2 separate regions of the Homo sapiens genome follow, and region 1 is linked to region 2. The links are contacts of gene promoters, found by promoter capture Hi-C in human tissues and cell types (Jung and others, 2019). All regions are on one chromosome and are shown on one strand. The core of a region is centred on a gene start or on the middle of the fragment in contact, and the rest is flanking DNA. Distances in the headings are between cores, read along the strand shown. Region 1 overlaps LOC105369896 (a long non-coding RNA gene). Region 2 holds the start of CCER1 (coiled-coil glutamate rich protein 1).

Evidence for each region. Contacts are between HindIII fragments. The study calls those that stand out against the background at their distance.
Region 1: a contact is called between a fragment that was not itself captured here and the fragment with the promoter of CCER1 in region 2, in 1 of the 25 tissues and cell types used here (IMR-90 fibroblasts).

Annotation. Positions count from the first base shown.
Region 1 is chr12:91,314,044-91,318,830 of GRCh38, forward strand. The region is part of intron 8 of LOC105369896 (a long non-coding RNA gene); the gene reads right to left. LOC107984544 (a long non-coding RNA gene) reads left to right here. Exons shown (of 3, transcript XR_001749252.2): 2 at 1,413-1,524; 3 at 2,303-2,411. Among named protein-coding and RNA genes, the nearest start is that of LINC02823, 10 kb to the right of the region's middle. The HindIII fragment of the contact is 5,212 bases long and covers 1-4,744 here.
Region 2 is chr12:90,953,489-90,958,390 of GRCh38, forward strand. CCER1 (coiled-coil glutamate rich protein 1) reads right to left here and starts at 1,688. Exons shown (of 1, transcript NM_152638.4): 1 at 1-1,688. The coding sequence starts at 1,254. The coding sequence ends at 34. RefSeq lists an enhancer at 597-696. The HindIII fragment of the contact is 9,241 bases long and covers 1-4,902 here.

The DNA of each region.
Region 1 (4,787 bases), core at 889-3,388, 360 kb after region 2:
TCACCATGTTGACCAGGCTGGTTTCAAACTCCTGACTTCAAGTGATCCTCCTTCTTTGGCCTCCCAAAGTGCTGGGATTACAGGCGTAAACCACCACACCCAACCAGTTTCTATATTTTAAAATGGAGGTACCAATAGTGCTTAATTCACAGGGATGCAGCTAACATGTTGCAATCAATCAGTAATGTTAATTACTATTTCCTTTCATAATTGTTTTTTAAAAGTATACAATAGGTATAATTTTTTTCAATTTTCATAATTTTTACTTGGCTAAGTGTCTTAATTATCTCAATTATATTTCCATGGCCAGTGAGATAATAAGCAAAGCCCACCCTTTCTTTTCACATTGTACAGATATCCACTTTTTAAACATGTTTAATTGACATATAATAATCCTATATTTTTACAGGGCACAATGAGATATTTTGATGTATATGCATACAGTGTATACTGTAGAATATTACAATTAAATCAAGCTAACATATCTATCACTTCACCTATTTTTTATTTGTAGTGAGAACACTTAAAATCTACTCGTTGAACAATTTTGAAATACACAATATATCACTATTAAGTATAGACATCATGCTGTTCAATAGATCACTGAAATGTATTTCTCCTGTCAAACTGAAGCCTTGTACCCTTTGGTCAACATCTCTCCTTCCCCTATTTTCCCACTGCCTCTCCCAGTCCCCAGCTCCTGGTAACCACCATTCTACTCTACTTCTGTGAATTTGAATATTTTAGATTATACATGTAAGTGAGATCATGCAGTATTTGTCTTCCTGTGCCTGGCTTATTTCACTTAGCATAATGTTTTCTAGTTCATCAGTGTTGAAACAAATGACAGAATTTCCTCCTTTTTTAAGGCTATATAGTGTTCCATTGTGCATATATAACACATTTTCTTTATCAGTTCATCTATTGATGGACACTGAGATTACTTTCCTATCTTGGCTATTGTGAACAATGCAGCAATGTACATGGGAATACAGATTATCTTTTCAACATACTGATATTGATTCTCTTGAATATATAGCCAGAAGTGGGATTGCTAGATCATATGATAATTCAATTTTCAGTTTTTTCAAAATCCTGTTTTTCATTATGGTTGTACTAAGTTATATTCCCACTAACCATTTACCATGATTCATTTCTCCACCTCCTAATGTTTATATTTTATTTTCTGAATAATAGCCATTCTAATAAGTGTTAGGTGATATTCTGTTGTGGTTTAATTTGCATTTTCCTGATGATTAGAGATGTTGAGCATTTTTTCATATATCTAGTCACCTTTTATATTTCTTCATTTAAGCAATGTCTCTTGAGGTTTGCCTTAATTCATTTGTGCTGACATAATAAAATACTACAGACTTGATCATTTGTAAATAACAGTAATTTGTTTTTCACAGTTCTGGAGCTATGTAAGTCCAAGATCAAGGCATCAACAAGTTCCATGGCTGGCGAGGGCTGCCCTCTGCTTCCAAGATGGTGCATCATTGCTGTGTCCTCACATAGTGGAAGGTGAAAAGGCAAAAGGGCTGAATGCTGAATAAGCCTCTTTTTAAGGGCCTTAGTCCCATTCAGAAGAGAGAAGGCCTCATGACTAATCACCTTCTACAGGCCACACCACTTAATACTATCACACTGGTAGTTGTTTCAGCATATGAGTTTTGGGGGACAGCCAGACCATAGCAAAGTTCTTTGCCCATGTTTTAATTAATTGGGTTGTTTTCCTGTTATTGAATTGTTTAAGTTTCATATATTTTGGATATTTGTCCCTTATCAGCTATATGGTTTGCAAGTATTTTCTTTTAATCTGTAATTTTTCTTTTAACTCTTTTTTTTTTTGTTGTTGTTGTAAAGTTTTTTTAGTTTGATGAAATTTCATTTGTCTATTTTTGCTTTTGTTGACTGTGCTTTTGGGGTAATATCAAAGAAATCATTGCCTAGAACAATGTTGTGGAGCTTTTCCCCTACGTTTTTCTTCTAGTAGTTTTACAATTCTAGGTCTTAAATTTCTTTCTTTAATCCATCTTGAGTTTATTTTTGTCTTTAGTGTGAAATAAAAATCCAATGTTATTATTCTGCATTTGGATATTCTACTTGTAAAGAATACAGTTATTTTTATTGTCTGGAGTCCTGACAAGAAACAGAACTCACTTCAGATTGTTCAACTGAAAAACAAAACAAAACATTAATGTATTGTACTTTCTGAGGTATAGGAATAGCAAAAGGAGTAAATCAGGGATGGTGGAGCATGCTGAGACTAGCAACAGCTGAAAGTAATTTCCTCTCACAGGACCAAAGAGGCATGAGGAAGAAATGGTGTTACCAGCATTCACTGAGGATTAGAATTGCAAAAATGTTGCTTTCTAGTGGGAAAAAGGAAAAAAAGTTATTACCAAGGACAAGGTAATGTACAACTTCCTCTCCTCCCACCTTCCTATCTCAGTGCACTAGGACCACTGTCTGGTTAGAAGCAGAAGCCAGCTGGCAAAGAAATTACAGTGAGGCAGTTTGCAGAAATTAGCTTTCTAAGGCCCAGATGGAGCGTAGCATGGTGGAGCATAGACTAAGGGAACAATGAAAGACCATGGATGCTTTGATATTCTCTAGTGTCATGTTCATAGTCAAGTCCCAGTAAATAATACCCAGACACAAGTGATTCCTCCCAGTTTCAATATCCTCCTTCCATGCTGGTAGCCTATCTACAGTCAACACCACCAGCTTCTAAACTATGCTTTATGTCACCAAGATTTTTACAGTCATTAACCTACATGGTGTCTCCTTAGCACTTTGCTTCTAATTAAAATATATATACTGATATATGTTGTATATATATTCAGTTGCAAAAGTGTTTACAAATTATTAAAGTTACATGCATGATCCAAACTCTTCTGCAAAATAAGCCAAAACTCTTGTTTGTTTTCAAGATCTGGACAGAATTCCTTGATTTGACTACATCCCACAAGAATGCTTTCATTCCTGCTTTTTACTGGAAACTTTTAAACTGTTGACACCACGGATTTTAAAAAATAAACAGATGGGCATAGCTTCATGACTTCATTTTATATTGTAAATATAAATATTCAGAGAGATAAAAGACAATGTCTCTATTTTTAATGTTTGTAAATTTAAAAATTTGCCGACATCATTTTATCCATATATACTTTGCTTGGCTTTTGTCCCTTAATAGATCTATAACTGTGTTGGGAAGTTGTTTAATCATAAGTCATTCTAGGTAAGTTAGAGTTTTAAAAAAATAAAAATGAAAGAATTAAAAAAAAAATAACCCTGATGTCAAGATAAGTAAAAATGTGAGATTAGCAAAACTGATTACAGTCACGGTAGAAAGAACATAAATCCTTTTCAATAATTTTTTTCTTTATTAAAAAAAACCCCTTTTCTCACTTTACAGGGGAAAAAAAGGGTATTTGGCATACAGTAGTACTGGACGTTATCCAGAGAAGAGTTTTTTTCAGAACTTGGTCCCTTTTCTAATCTGAACAAGTTCAAGCTACAGCAAAATTACAGTTTCCCAGTCTCCTTTTAATTTCCAATTTTTGTTAAAAAGGAACCTCAGAAGATATTGACTTCGTACTACTAAATTTGAGACAGGGCAGGTTAGAAATGTTTGCAATTTAACTAATATCAGTAACCTAATGGTGATGAACAAAATTTATATGTAGATGGAAAAATTTAAGCTAGTAAACACTATTTTGTCGTTTTTAATTGAGATGGATTTTTACATTTTTTTTTGTTCTAAATGGATATTTTACCATCACAAAACGGATGGTAATTATAAATTACATTTTGCCCAACATGGAATCAGAAAAAAGAAAAGACTTTTCATGATGCATCAATAAATAATGATTACATATCAGCTGAGCACAAAATCATGGGTCAAAATTAATAAATACAAATAATTTATGTTTTCATTTTCTGTGTATCAGATTTTGTTGTTGTTGTTCAAGAGTAATTTGTCCAAAATTTGTTTCCACATAATTTGATTACATTTATATTTTAGGGAGAATTCTTATAGTCTGGTTGGTGCTTTGCTCATGTCAAAGACATGTAATAAGCAAGTCATACACTTTGGGATCTCAATTTCTCTACAGAGAGTGGAGCCCTAAAATGGATGAATAATGAGACAAATAGTACTATAACACTGAGCAACAGGTGCCATAAGTATACATAGACTAATGTGAGCCCATATATTCAGTAAAGTTTCATGGATCTGAGACTTCAGATGATCCCACAGTGAGACTGAGTTAGCCAGTATACAGATCACATAAGTAAAAATTTTTTGGAAGAAAATTTTCTAAGGTGATGATCTGACAACTTTGGTTTCTAAAATATTTTTAAAGTAATAACTCAGATTTAGAATTTGTTTCTTGTATACACAATTTTCTTTGAATACTAAGAGCCACACATCTCAGTGTGATCAAGATAGATACTTTTTAAAAAATGTGAAATTGGCTACTTAAAATATGTGATGTGGCTTTGAGAGAGAGAGAGAGACCTGTGAGTTGGAAGCTTGGTCTAGAGAAAGTCTGCTCTGTATCCCTTCTGTCTATGGAAAGATTCTCAAGCCACAGAACAAATACAAATAATTCCAGCTGAAATAACTACAAATAGCATTCTAATTATGCATCCAATTTCCAGGCAAATATTATTTAAGAATATTGCAGTATTTTCTAATGCTATATAACATAGGTTGGGATACATTTTAATAGTAGAAATTTACTCTTCAGCTGAACAGGTATTTTCCCTTATTTTTATAG
Region 2 (4,902 bases), core at 438-2,937:
TTCCATCCCTTTTCTCAATCCCTTTTCTGATGTCTAACAGTTAAAGTCCTGTGCCATGAACAGGGATTCCTGTGGCACTTTGGGAATTATCTGCTCTGGGTTTAAAAAAGTGCAGCTTATAAAGTTCTCTCTCTTTTCTTCAGCCTCTACGAAGATTGATAAAGGCATTTCCAGAGGCAAGTGAAATTCTTCCCCTCTCTGCTCGTTCTCCTCCAGGACCTCCTCTTCCTCTTCCAGCTCCTCCTCTTCCAGCTCCTCCTCTCCCTCCTCCACATATTCAGCCTCTTCGACCTCTTCTTCCTCCTCATCTTCGACCTCTTCCTCCTCATCTTCGACCTCTTCTTCCTCCTCGCTCGCCTCCTTTGCATCACACACCTCCTGGTCATACTCCTCCTCATCATCATTTTTCTTCTCCTCCTCTTCTTCCACCAGCAGCGGGGCAAGAGACTGGTTTTCCTCTGGGTTGGGACTGAATGCTAGAGAGGGATTCTGCACAAAGCCATACAGAGTTTCCTGCAGTCCCCAGGTTTCCTTGCTGCCGCCAGGGGGCGCGTCGTTTCCGGAGGATCTGGCTGGGGAGGCCTCGCCGCTCACCGTGGCCTTCTGCGCCCGCAGCGCCTCCTGCTGACGCTCCACCTTCTCCTGCTGCCTCATGTCCTCGTAGATCTGGTTCATGATGAATTGGGTGGTGTTGGGCGGCGCTCGCATGCCAGGCTCTCTCCACTCATACAGCTTGACCGGCCGCGGCAGCGTGCTCACATCCGCTGGCGGGCTCCGCGGGTAGGAGTGGCGAGGGTGGTGGCGCAGGCCGCGGCCTCTGCGGCCCCAGCGCTTCTTCCTGCCTGGGGGCTTCACCCAGCCAGGGTTCCAGGACCCGCTCCAGCAGGAGCAGCAGCAAAAGCAGAGAGGGTGCAGGCCATACACCCGAAACACTTGCACCGGGCAGGGGAATTTCCAGAATCCTGGAGGGGGTGGGCGCCAGGGCCCTCCCCAGCACCCCCAGTTAGAGCACACGGGTGGTTGGAACCAAAAGCCCGGGCCGTGCTGTTGCTTCGGCTGCTTCCTTGGGGGCCCATACTCGGTCTTGGGGCTATATCGGTGCGGTCTATTGTACGCTGGAGCACCCGGGCGCCTTCGATGGCAGGACGACCAGGAGCTCAAGGAGGCCGAGTGTGCCCAGCCACAGCCACAGCCGCCGCCGCCACCGCCGCCCAGGTTCAGAGGGTCTTCCCTTGTGTCGAGGGTCTGAGTCATGGTTCAGGGAGCTCCGAGAGGTCCAGATGGTAGCGACCTGAAGCTGTCGTCAAGTTTTGCCAGGTAGGACGGTCAGAAGAGCCTCGTCTCGTCAACCTGTCTCTCCACGCAGCGCCACGTGTCTACCCCTGGGATCACGTTTTCCTCTCCAGGAGGCTGCTCTCTTCCTGGTTTGCACGCTCTTCGGTAGTAATCGCTTGTCCTTCGCACCTGGGTTGTCTCGCCCAGGTGTGCTGGGTGGGACTGGGGCTGGGTAAGGATGGTGGGGGAGGAAGGTGTTGGCAGGCGACACGCAGTGAGACCCACTCCCGGGTCCCCACCACACCCGGCTCTGCTGAGGCACGGGCTGGGGCCGGGGGAGGCAGGGGTTGCGCAGTTACCTGCTGCTCCCTCTCAACCCAGGTGCTTCACTGTCGCCGTCCTGGCAGGACTGTGGTGGCGAGGGCAGCGGCAGCCTTTAAATACTGGCTGTGGTCTCCCGCGTGCCCACTGCGTTCTTGGTCACCCAGGGCAACAGCCAATTGGGGTCGAAATCGTCCTCCCTGTGTGCAAGGCCGGGTTCTGTCCGGAACCAGGCTCCAGGTGAACATTCGCAGGGGGCTTGTGACGCAGCGTTTGGGGGAGGTGAAGAGGGGTCCAGGCTGGGTTTCTGCTGCTCAATTCAAGCAAGTCTGGAGGCAGTTTATCCGAAAGCTTTGTATCACCTTGAGGCGGGGGTTTAGAAGATGGGCCTTCATCTGAACCCGGTGGGGGCGGGAGAACTTGAGTTTTGAAAACCCCACATTCTACACCTTTGGAGGGCCTAAGGGATCATGGAAAATTACTGGAGAAAGGAAACTTTGCCCAACCTCTTACCTTCTGGCCGGTGCCAACTCTTCTTACTCCTGAGAATTGGGATTCATAATACATAAAACAAGACCACGAACATTTATTATTGCATGTGCTCACTGACAAATAATCCTGTCATCTACCCTGAGAGGTAGGCGTATCTTATCACCTGTCACAGATGAGGGAACTGAGAGCTTAATTTCCCCATGGTTGTGGGGCTAATAAATTTCCAGGCTACGATTTAAGCCTAAACCTGTTTGACCCAAAAGTTAGGTTCCTAATGACATTGCTATGTGTTCTACCAAACCCCCAGTAGGACCCTTGTGATAACTAAATGACATAACATTTGGGAAGGTACTTTGCTATTGGTAATATACCGTACATGTGTACCTCAATTAAACAAATATTATTATTACCATAATGAATACCACAGGTTTGTCCTTGGGAAGAGGAATATTCTGATTGTCTTTCCTTTTGTCCCTTCACTGACCATACAGCATATACACGGGAAGCCTTTAAAGCATTGTGGTTAAGCATATGGGTTTTAATTTAAATAAATGGGATTCAACTTCAACTCACCAATTATTAATCTCTGTAAGCCTCAGTTTCCTTACCCATACCATGATTATACTACCTTTTCCATACGGTTGTGTAAAGAATTAAATGCATATAACAGGTCCTCTAATATTAATGTTTTGCTCAATGTCATTTCCTTATAACGTTGCTGAGGCAAAACAACAACAATAACAAAACCACGTTTCATTATATGTCTTCTCATTTAAAAGTAGCAGTTTCCAAGAACCTATGATGCTAAGTGAGGACTTACTGTAATTCCTTCAAGTACTTAGTGCAGGTACCCTGTAAGTACTCAGTAACTGTTAACTATCATCCTTATTTGTAAATACTTCATGACTTCTAAAAGAGATGATATAGTATATGTAAAGGCACTTGTTCTTGATGCAAAAATAGGCATCCCCACCCTGGCTTGTGTCCTTTTCTTGTCCTTCTTTGTAAAACGTCAAGGAAAGTGCTACCATACTTGGTCCTAGAGAAAACCGTCTCAGTTTATATCCCTTTCTTACTTTTCTGTGCTGAGTGGAATTGCACAAAATGGAAAACTGCCTGCTGGGAACTTCAGTCTATATAAGGCTCCATTAAATGCCAGAAAAGCAAAATGTGTGAAAGCCCTGAAGCTGGCAAAGGTCATTTATGCATTCCTGGCTGAAAATTGAGAACATTATAGGGGGTCTTGGATCAGGACTCCAACATTTGCCCTGAGACCTGTAGAATCCACAGGCTTCATTTAATTTCATTTGCTCTGTGGTTTGCTGAGGACACCCCTGCTTGACTCAAAGTACAGAATGCTGACATGTTTAGCCTGCAGTATCCCTTTCTAGATATGGACTCACCTTTGGCAGTTATTCTGACCCTGCTCTGTGTACTCAAAATGGAATGGTGAGAGCCCAGTTTTATTTTTTTCTAAGGACGTGTGTTATGCAAAAATGGGTTTTAATTGAGAGCATTACAGATGGACCATGTTGCTGTGTTGAAATTCCAATCAGTTTCTTTTTGTTTTAAAAGAGATGGTTAACTCATTTTACAGGTAATTAAGGACATCATTTTTTGATCAGTTGATGTGACCTTTATACAGTTAATCTTGGCATTATATACTTTTTGCATGGTGAGAATATTTATTCTCCCTACTGAACAACATTGACACGTTATTGGCTTGCCCGAATTTTCTTAAGAGAAGCAGCAATTTATTATTTTGATTATGATTTTAATTTTACAGAGATTGGAATTATAATACAAGTTTTGAATGTACTGGTAAATCATCCAAGAAAATTTACCACTAAAGCATGTTAAACAAAAAGTCAGACATTTAATTAATTTTTAAAGACACTTTTATAGTTCTTTTTTTAGTGACAAATTATTGTATATATATATGGCACCATGTGATATTTCCATACATATATACTTTATGAAATGATCAAATTAGGCTAATTAGTATATTCAAGTATTTGTCGTTTAATTGTGGTGAGAATTTAAAATCCTCTCTTATAGCTATTTTGAAATACACAATACATTGGTGTTCATTGTAGTCACCTTGATGTGCATTAGAACACCAAAACTTACTCCTTCTCCCTACCTGTAACTTTGTACCTGTTGACCAATGTAAGGACACATTTTTAATTGACCCATATTCTTTCAATACCATGAAATGAAATATTCTGATTCAATATTGAAATATAACACATTCATCCTGTTGTTGAATATTGTATTAGCTTTCTGTTGCTGCATAACAAATGATCACAACCTTGGTTACTTAAAACAATATACATTTATTATCTCAAGGTTTTCAGGAATCAGGGGTCCAGGAATATCTTAGTGGGCCCTTTGTCCATGGGTGCAACAGGCTGTGATATGGTTTGGCTGTGTCCCTACCCAAATCTCATCTTGAATTGTAGCTCCCATAATTCCCACATGTTGTGGGAAGGAGCCAGTGGGAGATAATTGAATCATGGGGGTGGTTTCCCCATACTGTTCTCGTGGTAGTGAATAAGTCTCACGAGATCTGATGGTTTTCTAAGGGGAAACACCTTTCTCTTGCTTCACATTCTGTCTTGCCTGCCACCACGTAAGACGTGATTTTGCTCCTCCTTTACCTTCTGCCATGAGTGTGAGGCCTCCCCAGCCAAGTAGAACTGTGAGTCCATTAAACCTCTTTTTCTTTATAAATTGTGCCGTTTCGGGTATGTCTTCATTAGCAGCATGAGAACAGACTGCTACAGGCTGTAATTAAGATTTTGAATGGTTTGA